5 separate regions of the Homo sapiens genome follow, and all the other regions are linked to region 2. Evidence: promoter capture Hi-C in human tissues and cell types (Jung and others, 2019). All regions are on one chromosome and are shown on one strand. The core of a region is centred on a gene start or on the middle of the fragment in contact, and the rest is flanking DNA. Distances in the headings are between cores, read along the strand shown.

The links. The method cuts DNA at HindIII sites, captures the fragments that hold promoters and counts their contacts. A contact is called where the count stands out against the background at its distance.
Region 1: a contact is called between a fragment that was not itself captured here and the fragment with the promoter of ZNF703 in region 2, in 1 of the 25 tissues and cell types used here (bladder).
Region 3: a contact is called between a fragment that was not itself captured here and the fragment with the promoter of ZNF703 in region 2, in 3 of the 25 tissues and cell types used here (neural progenitor cells, small bowel and thymus).
Region 4: a contact is called between a fragment that was not itself captured here and the fragment with the promoter of ZNF703 in region 2, in 2 of the 25 tissues and cell types used here (IMR-90 fibroblasts and lymphoblastoid cells).
Region 5: a contact is called between a fragment that was not itself captured here and the fragment with the promoter of ZNF703 in region 2, in 4 of the 25 tissues and cell types used here (IMR-90 fibroblasts, hippocampus, lymphoblastoid cells and 1 more).

What each region holds. Positions count from the first base shown.
Region 1 is chr8:37,063,344-37,066,043 of GRCh38, forward strand. It overlaps LOC105379377 (a long non-coding RNA gene), which reads right to left. Exons shown (of 7, transcript XR_949675.4): 7 at 2,456-2,700. Among named protein-coding and RNA genes, the nearest start is that of KCNU1, 280 kb to the left of the region's middle. The HindIII fragment of the contact is 4,005 bases long and covers 1-2,700 here.
Region 2 is chr8:37,694,335-37,697,034 of GRCh38, forward strand. It overlaps ZNF703 (zinc finger protein 703), which reads left to right and starts at 1,448. Exons shown (of 2, transcript NM_025069.3): 1 at 1,448-1,888. The coding sequence starts at 1,646. LOC124901932 (a long non-coding RNA gene) reads left to right here. Exons shown (of 2, transcript XR_007060887.1): 2 at 81-449. LOC124901933 (a long non-coding RNA gene) reads right to left here and starts at 1,347. Exons shown (of 2, transcript XR_007060888.1): 1 at 1,106-1,347; 2 at 411-649. RefSeq lists silencers at 87-271, 1,059-1,408, 1,459-1,558 and enhancers at 1,293-1,836, 1,837-2,379. The HindIII fragment of the contact is 17,905 bases long and covers 1-2,700 here.
Region 3 is chr8:37,118,436-37,121,135 of GRCh38, forward strand. No RefSeq gene overlaps it. Among named protein-coding and RNA genes, the nearest start is that of KCNU1, 340 kb to the left of the region's middle. The HindIII fragment of the contact is 8,813 bases long and covers 1-2,700 here.
Region 4 is chr8:36,835,340-36,838,039 of GRCh38, forward strand. KCNU1 (potassium calcium-activated channel subfamily U member 1) reads left to right here. Exons shown (of 27, transcript NM_001031836.3): 13 at 957-1,026; 14 at 1,454-1,606. Among named protein-coding and RNA genes, the nearest start is that of KCNU1, 52 kb to the left of the region's middle. The HindIII fragment of the contact is 5,758 bases long and covers 1-2,700 here.
Region 5 is chr8:36,891,892-36,894,591 of GRCh38, forward strand. All of the region lies in intron 19 of KCNU1 (potassium calcium-activated channel subfamily U member 1), which reads left to right. All of the region lies in intron 2 of LOC105379375 (a long non-coding RNA gene), which reads right to left. Among named protein-coding and RNA genes, the nearest start is that of KCNU1, 110 kb to the left of the region's middle. The HindIII fragment of the contact is 6,473 bases long and covers 1-2,700 here.

The DNA of each region.
Region 1 (2,700 bases), core at 141-2,640, 630 kb before region 2:
TTAAAATAACACAGTCGCATCTCTGTTAGTGATATATTTTCTAAAATAATGAACAACTCTTGGAGAAGTGCCATATGATGCCATCCTTCCAGCTTGAGTGACACAGCAAGAATGTGTGATTGAGCAGAGAGTCCAGTGTCACCACGTCCTAGAGATGAGATCTCTAGCAAGTCACTTTGATATCTATTTATATCCATTCCTTAGCATCTGTGTGCTTTGTACCAATATAATGCCATCCTATTTTCTGTCAATTTACAGAATTGATGCTTTACTGAAAGGTTCAGGGAGTATTCAGACAGTGCAAAAATGTTTTTGAATTTACACACAATATAGATTTAGGCTTAGATTATTCCAAATAGGTCTTTCACCCAACTGTATGTCCAGTGAAACATTTGAAAATTACATGTGAAATGGGATAACTTTTTGATGTATGGAACTGACCAGTGTATTGCAAGACGTCTGCTCCCCTTGGCCCCACCTACTAAATGCCAATTACAATGATGGGTGAAATCCCACCTCCCCTAGGAGTGGCAGCTCTTCTCCATCTTGTCCCACATTGAGAACCACTGCTTTATCAGCTTTCTTGTGCTTCAGTTCTCACCCTTCTGTCTGAGCTCACCTTCTTTCCCCAGTATCCAGGATCTCTCTCTCTCCTTTTTTCTTTTTTATTCTCTATCTCTTATAATTCGGCATTTCAACATAACAAAACTTATATTTCTCTCTTAACTTCTTTATGCTAGCCTGGCACACTTGGTCCTCTGAATTATTTTGCTTCCAACTCAGCCTGGGTTGAATCCTGAAGGAGTCAGCAAGGCTTAGAAAAATTTCTTGGAACCAGAAACTCATGTGGAAGTCATTTAGTTTAACCCTCCTTTTCTACATGATCAAACTGAAGCTTAAATATGTGCAGTGACTTGCCTGGGGTCCCACAACAAGTAAGTGGTAGTTTCAAAACAGGAACCTGAGTGTCTTCCACTATCCTTATACCTAGCTCTCTCTTGCTCAATAAGCCAATAAACCAAGCAACAAACCCTTATTAATGTCAAATGTAAGGCACTTTGTTAGGAATGCCTTACACTTCCTGAATTTAAGTACAATTGGAAAGATAAGAAATGGCAATAAAACAATGATTCCATTTAACAAAGTGTATGTCTTGTATTCCAGTTTTGCACAAGACTTTGTGCTACATGTTTCAGGAGATACAATGAACGGCAGCAGCTTCAGCCTACTCTTCCTCTAGAGCACATGGTCTGGTAATGAGATAAGACCTTATTATAATGCAAGGTAGAACCAAACACAGCCGACACTTGAGCAACATGAGTTTGAACTGTGCAAGTTCACTTATACAGAGATTTCTTTCTACCTCTGCCCTGCCCCCAGATGACAAGACCAACCCCTCCGCTTCATCCTCTTCCTCAGCCTACTCAATGTGAAGACTATGAGGATTTTTGTGTATGGTGTGAGATAGGGGTTCAGTTTCATTCTTTTGTATATTGGTATCTAGTTTTCTTAACAACATTTGTTGAAGAGACTATCCTCTCCCCATTATGTATTTTTTGGCATCTTTGGATGCATGGGTTTATTTCTGGGTTGTCTATTCTGTTCCAATGGTATATACATCTGTCTTTATGCAAGTACTGTACTTTTTATTATGTCTTTGTAATATAATTTGAAGTCAGGAAGTGTGATGCCTTCAGCTTTGTTCTTCTTTTTCAAGATTGGTTATTCAGGGTCCTTTTGATTCCATAGGAATTTAAGAATATTTTTTCTATTTCTTAAAAAGTGCCTTTGGGATTTTGATAGAGATTGTGTTGAATATGTAGATCATTTTGGGTAGTATGGACATTTTTACAATATTAATTCCTCCAATCCAGGTACATAGGATTTGTATCTTCTCATTTATTTGTATCTTTTTAAATTTCCTTCATGAATGCTTTGTAAGCTTCAGTATATAAGTCCTTTACTTCTTTGGTTAAGTTAATTTCTAAGTATTTTATTTATTTATTTATTTTGTTGCTAATGTAAATGGGACTGTTTTCCTGTGGAGAAAAGAGAACCCTTATACACTGCTGATGAGAATGTAAATTAGTAAAACCATTATGGAAAATGGTATGAAGGTTCTCCAAAAACTTAAAAATAGAACTAACATGATCCAGCAATCCTAGTTCTTGGTATCTAAAGCAATCGAAATCAGGATTGTGAAGAGTTCTCTGCACTATCATGTTCATTACAGGATTATTCACAAAGCTAAGCTATGGAAATGGCCTAAATGTTTTTCAACAGATGAATGGATAAAGAAAATGTGGTGTGTGTGTGTGGGTGTGTGTGTGCGCGCGCGCATGTGTGTGTATAACAGAATACTATTAAAAAAGAAGGAAATCCTGCTGTTAGCCACAACATGATGAAGCTGGAAGACATTATGCTAGGTGAAACAAACAAGACACAGAAACAGAAATCCTGCATGATCTCATTTATATGTGAAATTGAAAATAGTCAAATTTATAGAAGCAGATAGTAGGATAGTGGTTTCCAGGGCCTGGTCAAGGAAGAAATAGGGTGATACTGGCCAAAAGATACAAAGATTCAGTTATGAAATATGAATAATTTCTAGAGACCTTATGTACAGCATGGTCATGTTAATTAACAAAACTGTATTGTATACTAGTAATTTGCTGAGAGGACACATCTTAAATCTTCTCA
Region 2 (2,700 bases), core at 198-2,697:
AAGATACAGATTCGTGATAGCTATTTCTTTCTGTTTGAAGAGCTCCTTTGAAATCACCTCTCCCCATCTTGGGTTCTCAGGTCATCTCAAGGCGTCGGTCAGCGCGGCAGAGTCGGGAACCTGCCATCCTAGAGCAATACGCCCCGAGTGACAGCCCTGACAACCGGAGTGATGGATCGGGACTGGAAAAGTGGTGCTGGGAGCCAGGCAGTGACACCAGCGCGCCTCCACTGGCCGCCGAGCGCACGGAGAAGTGGGCTCCCCAGAGTTCGGCACCCAAAGGACCAACTTCGCCTCCGGAAAAGCGGCGGATCCGGAACTTGGATGTCAGGACTATGACTACGTAAAATCTCTGCCCAGGGCGAAGCTAGCAATGCACACTGTATCAGAAAGGCGCAGGGAGTCGGGAAGGGTATTGTTATTTTTAATTAAAAGTTTTTATCCCGAAATTTGCCTGGGGAAAGCAAGTGCTTTTTCCCCCGGAGTGAGAAGGATGGGGGGGCGGAGGGGTTGTGTTGCCGAGCAGCGCTTAGAGAGAGATCCCCCTCCAGGGACACCCGCCTCGCCCGTGATCTCGGTCTCTCCTCGTAGCAGCTGGGCGCGGTACAGTGAGGAACTTCACGCCCCTCAGCAGGACACGGTAAGAAGCCTGTAACACACCAGACACCGAGCCTCTAACGCAGGGCGCAGGCACAGCGCGCACAGCCTGGGGTCCCGCGCTTGGTCGCCGACCATGTCACTCCAGAAGGGAGACAAACTTGCAGGCTTCAGACAAGACGGGCTCAAAGTAGTTGGAGCTGCCTACGCCGCGTCCCGAGAACAGTGGGTGCCTCCGAGGCTCGGGCGCTTCCAAGTGAACACACCAAGGGGAGGCCAAGTAGGGGAAGGAGAGCGGGGCCGAGGAGAGCCGGAGCAGCTCTGGAGAAGGACCCGGGCTCCCGAGGCGAGGCCTGCCCCCAGGCGGCCTCTGGGAGAGGCTTGAACTCCAGCGTCCCAGAGCCCGCGCCGTGCGATCCCTCCCACCCCACCCCACCCCACCCCACCCCACCTCGGACACACACGGCGGGCGGGGTTACAGCCCCCGCCAGCATCACCCCCCACCCACCCAGTGGTGAGAAGGGAGAGAGGAGAGAGAGCGGCCGGAAAGGAGGACGGGGCGCAGAGCTCAGGGTCCCGGAGAAGTCCCGTCCCAGGCGGGGGACCCCAGGGCGAGGAAGGCCCAGTCGGGGGGAGGGGAGGAATCCCGGGAGCGGCCGAGACCGAGGCAGCGGCGGCGCGCGGCGCGGCCCCTTTAAGGCTCTCCCCGCCCACCGATGGAGCCGGCCTCAGCCCGCCGCTCTCCCCGCCCCGGGGTCCCGGCGAGAGCTGCGATTGGGCGGGCGCGGCGATCCCTTTGAAGTGTGGCTGCCGATCGCGGCTATTTGACGTGCGGCTCGAGGAAGGCGAAGGTTTTTGTGTTGCTAGCCGGGGCCAGCGGCGGTGGCGGCGGCGGCGGAGGCGTCGGTGGAGGAGGGGAGGCGGCGAGGAGGCGCAGCTCCCGCTGCACCGCGATCGACGCTGCGGAGCGAGCCCACCCGCCCCGGGAGCTCGCCTCCCCGGTGCTCCCCCGCCCTCCCCGCCCCCCCAGCGGCGCTGCCTCCTCCAAATGAGCGATTCGCCCGCTGGATCTAACCCAAGGACACCCGAAAGCAGCGGCAGCGGCAGCGGCGGCGGCGGGAAGAGGCCGGCGGTGCCGGCAGCGGTGTCCCTCTTGCCACCGGCGGACCCCCTGCGCCAGGCGAACCGGCTCCCGATCAGGGTCCTGAAGATGCTGAGCGCTCACACCGGTCACCTCCTGCACCCGGAGTACCTGCAGCCGCTGTCCTCCACTCCCGTCAGCCCCATTGAGGTCAGTCCCCGGCCGCTGCCCCCGGGCGCCGGCCCCATTCCTCCCACCGCGACCGGGACCCTGACCCAGCTCCCAGCGCCCCGGGGCTCGGTGCGACACCCAAGTCTGGTCACGCTGGCGGGCTGAGTGAGGAGGGGAAGAAAACCGAGGGATCAGAGCCCACCAGGGCTTCCCCAGGCTTCCCCGTGGAAGGGTCTCCTTCCACGCTCGCCCTTCGGAGCTCCGTGTTTTCTCTCGGATTGGATTTGCTCCTGGAGTCCCCTCTGGGTCCTTTACTTTTCCTCTGATCCCCAGTTTCCAGCCAGGAGTTGGTCTCTGCTGGGTCTTCCCCGCCCCCCACGCCGGGCTGTTTTCTTTGAAGCCCTGGCTGCCCGGGTCCCACTTCGCCTCTGTCCCATCCGGTGAGGGCGCACGGCGCCCTGGCGCTCCCGATCCCGGATCTTTCTTCCTGCCTCTTCCCTGGGTGCCCTCCCCGGGAGGGAGGGGCTACGGAGAGAGCGCCAACTGCAGCCCCTCCTTTAGAATCCGCGCTCCCCTCTCCTACCCCGCGGCGCCATCGCCAGAAACCCGTCCCAAGCGAAGTTCCCCCAAACTAAAGGAATAAGTTTTTTCCTGGGCCTGGAGGAGGGGGACATTAGAGGGAAGTGGCGAGTCACAGCCCCGACTCCAGAGACGTCACCTTCTCCCGCAGGGGTCCTGGGTGAACTCCTTCCGCAGGGCCTGCGGCGCACCCCGGGACCCAGCGGCAGTGTGGGCGCAGTTCCGCCAGCTGCCGCGCCCGGCCCGGCCCTCGCTCGCAGACCCTCTCCCCA
Region 3 (2,700 bases), core at 45-2,544, 580 kb before region 2:
ATTACATGAGATCAAGGAAAATAGTATACATCATCTAAGGACGTTCCATCCTCTTCTGAAAAAAGGGGTAGTATGTTTTTGGTTGTACCATGTTAGGTGGAAATATGACCTTAGTATTGTTTTCATTCAGGTATTAAGTATAGTTTATGGGTGCTATTATGGACTGAATGTGTGTTCTCCTCCAAAATGTACATGTTGAAGCCCTAACTCCCAATGTAATGGCATTTGGAGGTGCAGCCTTTGTGAGTTGTGTCTTGGATGTTGAATCCCTTCATAGTGCATTTGGATTGCTATAACAAGATACCATAAATTGGGTAGCTTATAAACAACAGAAATTTATTTCCCACAGTACTGGAGGCTGGGAAGTCCAAGATCAAGGTGCAGGTAGATTTGGTGACTGGTAAGGGTCCTCTTCCTGGTGTATCAATGGACAGCCATCTTCTCACTGTGTCCTTACATGAGGGAAAGGATGAGAGATCTCTCCAGGATCTCTTTTATAGGGGCACTAATCTGATTCATGAGGGCTTCACCCTCACAGCCTAATCACCTCGCCAAAGACCCATCTCTTAGTATCATTACCTTGGGGGCTGGAAATTCATTATATAAATTTAGGAGGGATATAAATATTCAGTCCAGTGCCACCCCTCAGAATGGAATTAGTTTCCTTATCTGAAGAAGAGGAAATACCAGAGCTCTTTCTTTCTCTCTCTTTCATATGAAGACATTGTGAAAATGTGGCAATCTGCAAGCCAGGAAGAATACCTTCACCAAAAACTGAATCTACCAGCACCTTGTTCTTGCACTTCCCAGTCTTTAGAATTGTAAGAAACAAATGTCTGTTGTTTAAGCCACCCAATCTATGGTATTCTGAGCTGACTAGACAGGTGCTAAGTTGATAAGAGGTGATCTTATGATGATTGATAAATTTTGTATGTCAGTTTGGAGGGTGTTTTTGGATAAGATTAACACTTAAATCAGTGAACTTTGAATAAGCAGAATACTCTCCTTAATGTACATGGGCCTCATCTAATCAGTTGAAAGTCTAAATGGAATAAAAAGACCAGCCTCCTCAGTCAATAGAAACCTTCCCACCAGACTTCCTTTGGACTAGAACTGCACCATTGGCTCTCCCTGGATCTTAAGACTACCAGTTCACACTGCAGATTTTGTACTAACCAGCCTTCATAATGAGCAAGAGAACTCATTCTAATACATCTGTTTCCTTGTATATGTATGTGCCATTGGTTCTGTTTCTCTGAAAAATTCTGAATAATGCTAAAACATATTAAGACTAATCAAAAGAAAGTTGGAGTAGCTATATTAATTTCAGACAAAGCAGACTGCATAACAAGGAAAGTTATTGGGAATAAAGGGGAATGTTTTATAATGTTACAGAAGTCAATTTTCCAAAAAGATTTAACAATCCTACATGTTATACTATCTAGCATTTAGATATACCTGTACCTAACAGCAGAGTCAAAATACATGAGAGAAAAAGAAATAATATAATTGAAAGGAGAAATGGGGAAAATCCACTATTATAGTTGGAGACTTCAACATTCCCATTTCAGTAATTGATAGATCAAACAGACAGAAAATCAGTAAGAATATAGTTGGCCTAAACAGTACTATCAATCAACTTGATCTAATTGGCATTTATGGAATGTTCCATCCAACAAGAGCAGAATATACATTCTTCTCAAGTTTACATGGAACATTCGCAACCCCACTCCCTGCTACAAAAAAAAAAAAAAAAAAAAAAAAACAAAACTCATTCTGGGCCATAAAACACACCTTAACAAATTTATAGGAAGATAATACTATAAAAGTTGGCTCCCACACCAAGTGGAATTGAAGTAAAAATCAATAACAAAAAGATAATTGGAAAATCCCCAAATATTTGGAAATTAAACAACATACTTTTAAATAACATGTGTGCCAAAGAAAAAAAAACTTTGAAATTTTAAAATATTATCAGTTAAATTAAAATAAATGTGCAATTTATCAAAATTTATGGGATGCAGCAAAAGCAGTGGATAGGAGGAAATTATTAGCATTAAGTGCAGATATTAGTAAAGAAGAAATATCTAAAATTAATCATCTAAGCTTCTACCTTAGAAAACTAGAGAAAGAAAAGCAATTTAAGCCTGAAGTAAAAGGAAGAAAAGAAATAATAAAATTAGAGCAGATTAATAAAATTGAAAACAGAAAAACGAGAGAGAAAAAAATCCTCCCCAAAATCCAAAGCTGATTCATTCAAAAAAATTAATAAAAGTGATGAACTTATAGCCAGGCTAATCAAGAACAAAGGAGAGATGACATTTATTATCAATGTGAGAAATGAAAGAGGGATAATCACTACTGAGCCCAAAGACATGAGAAAAACAATAAAGGAATACTATTAACATTTCTATGCCTACAGATTTGATAACTTAGATAAATGGGACAAATTTCTTGAAAGACATAAACTACCAAAACTCACACGAGCATAAATAGATAGTCAGCAAAGGTCTATATCTATTGAAGAAATTGAATCATAATTAATAAACGTACAAAAAAGAAAGACTCATGTCCTGACAATTACACTAGTGAATTTTACCAAATATTTAAGTAAGAGATGATAGTTTTCTACAGCCCAGAAAATAGAAGCATATGAAAAAAATTCCTGACTCAGACCAATATTCTCCATGAACATAAATG
Region 4 (2,700 bases), core at 161-2,660, 860 kb before region 2:
TTTCTTTTCTTTTTTTTTTTTTGAGACGGAGTTTTGCTCTTGTTGCCTGTGCTGGAGGGCAGTGGCGTGATCTAGGCTCACTGCAACTTCCACCTCCCCGGTGCAAGCAGTTCTGCCTCAGCCTTCCAAGTAGCTGGGATTACAGGCATGTGCCACCACGCCAGACTAATTTTTTATTTTTAGTAGAGATGGGGTTTTACCATGTTGGTCAGGCTGGTCTTGAACTCCTGAGCTCAGATGATCTGTCCACCTTAGCCTCCCAAAGTGCTGGGATTACAGGCTGGGCCACTGCGCCTGGCCTGACCATCGGCAAGTATTTTCAAGATGGCTAGAGTCAGTGTTATTACATTAAACTGTGAACTCTTCTAGCAAGAACGTGACTTGTGATAACTGTGATTATGATGACAATGGCATTTTGGCTAATCCAGATGAACTTCCAATCTCCAGAGTAAAATAAACACAGATAGCTGAAGGTGACATTACATATAGCAAGAAACAGCTGAAAATCTGTACCATACATAGTACAGTAAATATGACGTAGATCTTAGTTTCTTAATTTGTAAAATGGGGAAGTTGAATTAGACAGTCTATGAGCTATTTCAAGCCATAGACTACCATCAAATTTCTATTTTTACCTGTAATTATTAGGTTTGGGTTTGAAAGCTAAAACATGAAACTGTTGATTTCCTCCTCAAGAATTGGTCTCAGAAGAACACAGTCTTCTAACACCAAGAGATAATCATTCCATAGATTTGGTTGGCAAAGTCATGAAAACAATGATGCTCTTCTGTGTAGGCTACTAAAAACATTTTTAGAAAACAACACAACAATAAACTTTATTATATGCCAAGTTTTTCTACACTTACCTACATATCAATTTAACTCTGAATTAAATTATATTACAAAGCCCTTTGGCTATGACACATGACTAATGAGAGTGTTTGGGGTTTATATAGGGTGCTCTCTATCAAGAACTATGATTCTACCACCAGAATCATCATACAGATACTGCAATCCCATAACAAGGTATAGTAACATTCTAGCATATTCCATCTCCTCCTTTTATCTATATAGCTAGACGAACTTTTTAATTTTCTAATGGATGTGTAAATAAAAAGTTTTTGCTAATCATAGGTAAAATTTGGAGTCTTATTAAGATGGATAATCACTTAACAATGTAAATTGGGGGCAGAATTAGAAGTTTAAGTCATTTGACCTGATTTTGCAACTCTAGCTATTTTTGTTTCAAAAAATGAGAGCCATTGACCACTAACCACTTTCAAATGCTGAATTTGTTCTTATCATTTTCATTGACCTGGGCACCACTTTTGTGTGCAAAAATGAAGAATATATGATTTCAAGTAAATTTAAAAAAAGAAAGACATCCATCCTCAAGAGCTTTCTTGAGGTGTGTTTATTCCTAATGTTTGACCTGCTTTGTGCTATGGAACAGGTTTATCTGCCAAAGATTCCCAGCTGGAACTGGGACACCGGAGACAACATCATCTGCTTTGCTGAATTAAAACTTGGATTTATCGCCCAAGGCTGTTTGGTGCCAGGCTTGTGTACCTTCCTAACATCTCTATTTGTGGAGCAAAACAAAAAGGTAACCTTGTAAATTACTGTTGATTCTTGGCTCTGTTCCTATGTCCTACATATTAAGATCAGAAATAGGAAAAAAATTTGAGAAAAGCATCAAGGCCCCAAGCAATGAGATATGACTTCTGCTTGAGCTGGGAAGGGATTAGAAGATCTGAATTTAAAAGTCCCAGGTACCACACTGACCTTGAAGAAATCATTTATTTTATTCCTGCCTAAGAATATTTATCTACAAAACAGAAAAAATATAACTCTGCTTCCTACCTACAGTCCAGGATGTTTTAAATCAAAGTACATTCATCAAAGTAGAAGCATTGAGTTATCGAAAGTGAAAATATAAATAAAGGTTATATTATTAATGAAGGATTCATATATTTCAATATAAATTAAATCCAAAATAATAATTGGTATAATAATTATATTCATCAAATAGAAATGATACAAATAGTAATTAAAATCTAATTTTTCCAGGTTGTTTAAGGGAGCATTCCATGCAGGAATAATAACAGTAACCACATGATGAGTGCCTACTGTCTTGTGTTTCCCCTCAATAATATGTTGTTAGTATCCCAGCAGTGAATTGGTGAAGCTAACTAACTTGATCATGCAGTAAGTTAGTGAGCCGCAGAGCTAGAACTGTCTGGTCCACAGTGTTGTTACCACAATGCTGTATGCCTCTGGTGTTATTTCCACACAATGTCTCACATCAAGATTTTTGATATTTTTGTCTGAGACAAAGTAAGGGGCTAAAAGTGACTCTTGGGATAAATTTTTGTAGCACAAAAGGTGGTCTTCCAAATATCATTTCCATGAAATGCTCCAGGCAAGGTGTGCTAGCCCTTGGCTGGACCTGGTCTTCCTTTTCTAAAGTGCTTGCAGAGAATGACCTTACTTTCCATTTAATTCTGAGTCCATGCTTGCCTTTCATACACGTGACTTCCCTCTTGACCTCTCTTTGCTCGCTCTTTCCTCTGTTCTCTTTTTTCTGTGTTCAGTACAAATATTTGCATCTTTTTCTGTTTCTTCCCTGGTGCTATTTAACGAAAAGCAAAAGAAGTAAGAGGTGCTCTGGCCAGCTATATCCTAACTGCAACAAACGGA
Region 5 (2,700 bases), core at 43-2,542, 800 kb before region 2:
TTTGCCCTTGGCTCTGAACAATTTGATTATGGTATATCCAGGTCTGAATCTCTTTGAGATTACTCTACTTTAAACTTCCTTTAGCTGCTTAGATATGTAAGTTAATGTTTTCATTAAATATGTAAAATTTGTGTCCATTATCTAAGTACTCTTTCTTCTTTCTCTCTCTCCCCCATTTCTGAAACTCCCATTTTGTGTATGTTGATACACTTGATGATGTCCCACAGTTTTCTGAAGCTTCTGTGTATATTTCTTCAATAGGTTTTTATTTCTATTTTTCTGACTGCATTATCTCCATTGACTTATATTCAAGCTCATTTATTCCTTCTTCTGCCAACTCAGATCTGCTGCTGAGCTCCTTCACTAAAATTTTCTTTTCAGTTATTGTACTTCTTAACTCCAGAATTTCCATTTGTTTTTTTCTTATAATCTATCTCCTCACTGATATTTTGTATTCAGTGCTATATTGTTCTCATACTTTTCTTTAGTTCTTTAAAAATGGTTTCAGTTAGTCCTTTAAATATATTTATAATGGCTCTTATAAAATCTTTGCCTAGAAAGTCTGGGCTTCCTTCCGGACAGTTTCTATTGGTGTTCCCACCCCCCACCCCCCACCAGGTATGGTCCATACTTACTGTGTCTTTGTGTCTCATAATTTTTTGTTGAAAGCCAGGCATTTTAAATAATATTATATGACAACTCTACAAACTATTTTGCTATGGTTTATTGTATATTGACACTTAAATCTCTACTCAGCTTTATGATCAGCTAATGATTGCACTGAGATTTCCTTAAATGCCTTGAACTGATAAGTCTTCTTATATTTGCCAAGGGATTCTGTGTGCATGTTGAGGTAATTCCTTTGACACTTTAGCAGTTTACATCTTTGCCTAAGCCTTCATTTTTGGTTTGTGCAGTCTCAAGATCAGCCAGAAGAGATTAGGAATACCTCAGGTTTTTTTTCCCCTGGGTGTATTTACAACTCTGCACATGCACATGGTTTTATTTTTATTCAGTTTCCTACAGTGAATGTTTCAAAACCTTTTAATACCCTCTATAGAAGTCTGTTATTTTCTTTTGTTTTATTTGAGACAGAGTCTTGCTTTGTCACCCAGGACAGCATGCAGTGGCATGATCTCAGCTCACTGCAACATCTGCCTCCTGGGATCAAGCAATTCTCCTGACTCAGCCTCTCAAGTAGCTGTTATTACAGGTGTGAGCCACCATGCCTAGCTACTTTTTGTTTTTTTTTGTTTTTTTTTTGTAAAGATGAGGTTTCGCCATGTTGCCCAGGTTAGTCTTGAACTCCTGGCCTCTGGTGATCCACCTGCTTCAGCCTCCCAAAGTGCTGGGATTACAGGCATGAGCCACCACATCTGGCCCTCTCTATAGACTTCTAATTCTCCAGCTTTTTCTTTTGAAGATTTTTATGGGTCTTTTTTTTTTTTGCGACATTGTTAACTATAACTCAGATATTTGCAATTTAAAAAAATTACTGCTGATTATTTTTTTAAAATGCCTCCGGAAAAATTCCACTGAGAAAACTCCCAGGCCAAATAAAGATAAGCCCTGTGAGTGTGCACTTCCAGGGAGCTGCTAGAAAGCTCAAATAGTAACATATTCTGTGAATAAGGATATTTAACAGCTTCAGATCTATTTTTTCTCTCTGGTGGCTGCTAGACTGCTGGTTTTCAGAGCTACTGTTATTGTAAGGCTTCTGATCTTGATGGCTACTGTTGAACTAAAGATAGTGGAATGGGAATAGCACTTCTCAAAAATGCCATGAAGCTTATTGTTCTTACCAAGATCTCACCATTTTTCTTAAACAAATACTCCTCATATTGTTTCAAGTCTCCAGTTTATTTCCAGAACTCTGAAGATGTTGATTTTGATAATTTTTTTGTCAATATTCTCATTGCTTGTGTAGAATAGTGAATATTCAAAGGCCCTAACTCTGCCATTCTGGAAGAATGTCCCTTGTAGTTACTTTTTATAGTTATTTTTCATCTTCCTATTAAACTTGTAATGGTCCCTTAACCTGGTTTAAGACCATCTCTTTGCAGCAACGCCTTCCTTCATCTCTAACTTGACACTTTTAATCTGCAAGCCAAAAATCCAAAAATGTTAGAAATATAGATAATTCATGAAAAAATTTTCGATTAACAAATGCCACTGAGTATTTGTGATATCTTTGGTCTATGCAAATGCTATTTTAAAATGATGTCAGGCTGCTTTCTAGATTAGAAGTCAAAATCCACTTCACTACCTGTTTTTATATGGTTTGCCATACAAAAGCATTGTGCTTAATTTCAATGAAAGTATACTGTGGTAAAAGACTACAATATATGTTGATATTATCAAACTTGGCACTTATCACAATATTCTCAATTCATGGTAAAGCCATGGTTAGAAAAATTATAAAATTTTAAAAGAACATCTTAGCACAGCAGAATTTGTAATCAAAGTTTGTTTCTGAGTGACTCACTTGTTAGCCAAGCAAGAGAAGTCATTTACTAATGGTGAATCAATTAAATTGTGTTTGATTGCAGCAGATGAAAAAATGTATCCAGACAAAATAAAACTACCTAGTACTATTAACCTTTCAGCAAAAATCACTGCTGGAAGAATTGAAGACATCAGAAGCAATATCAATATCACTTAAAAATGAGGAAAATAGTTGTGAGTGGTTTCTCTCAGCTT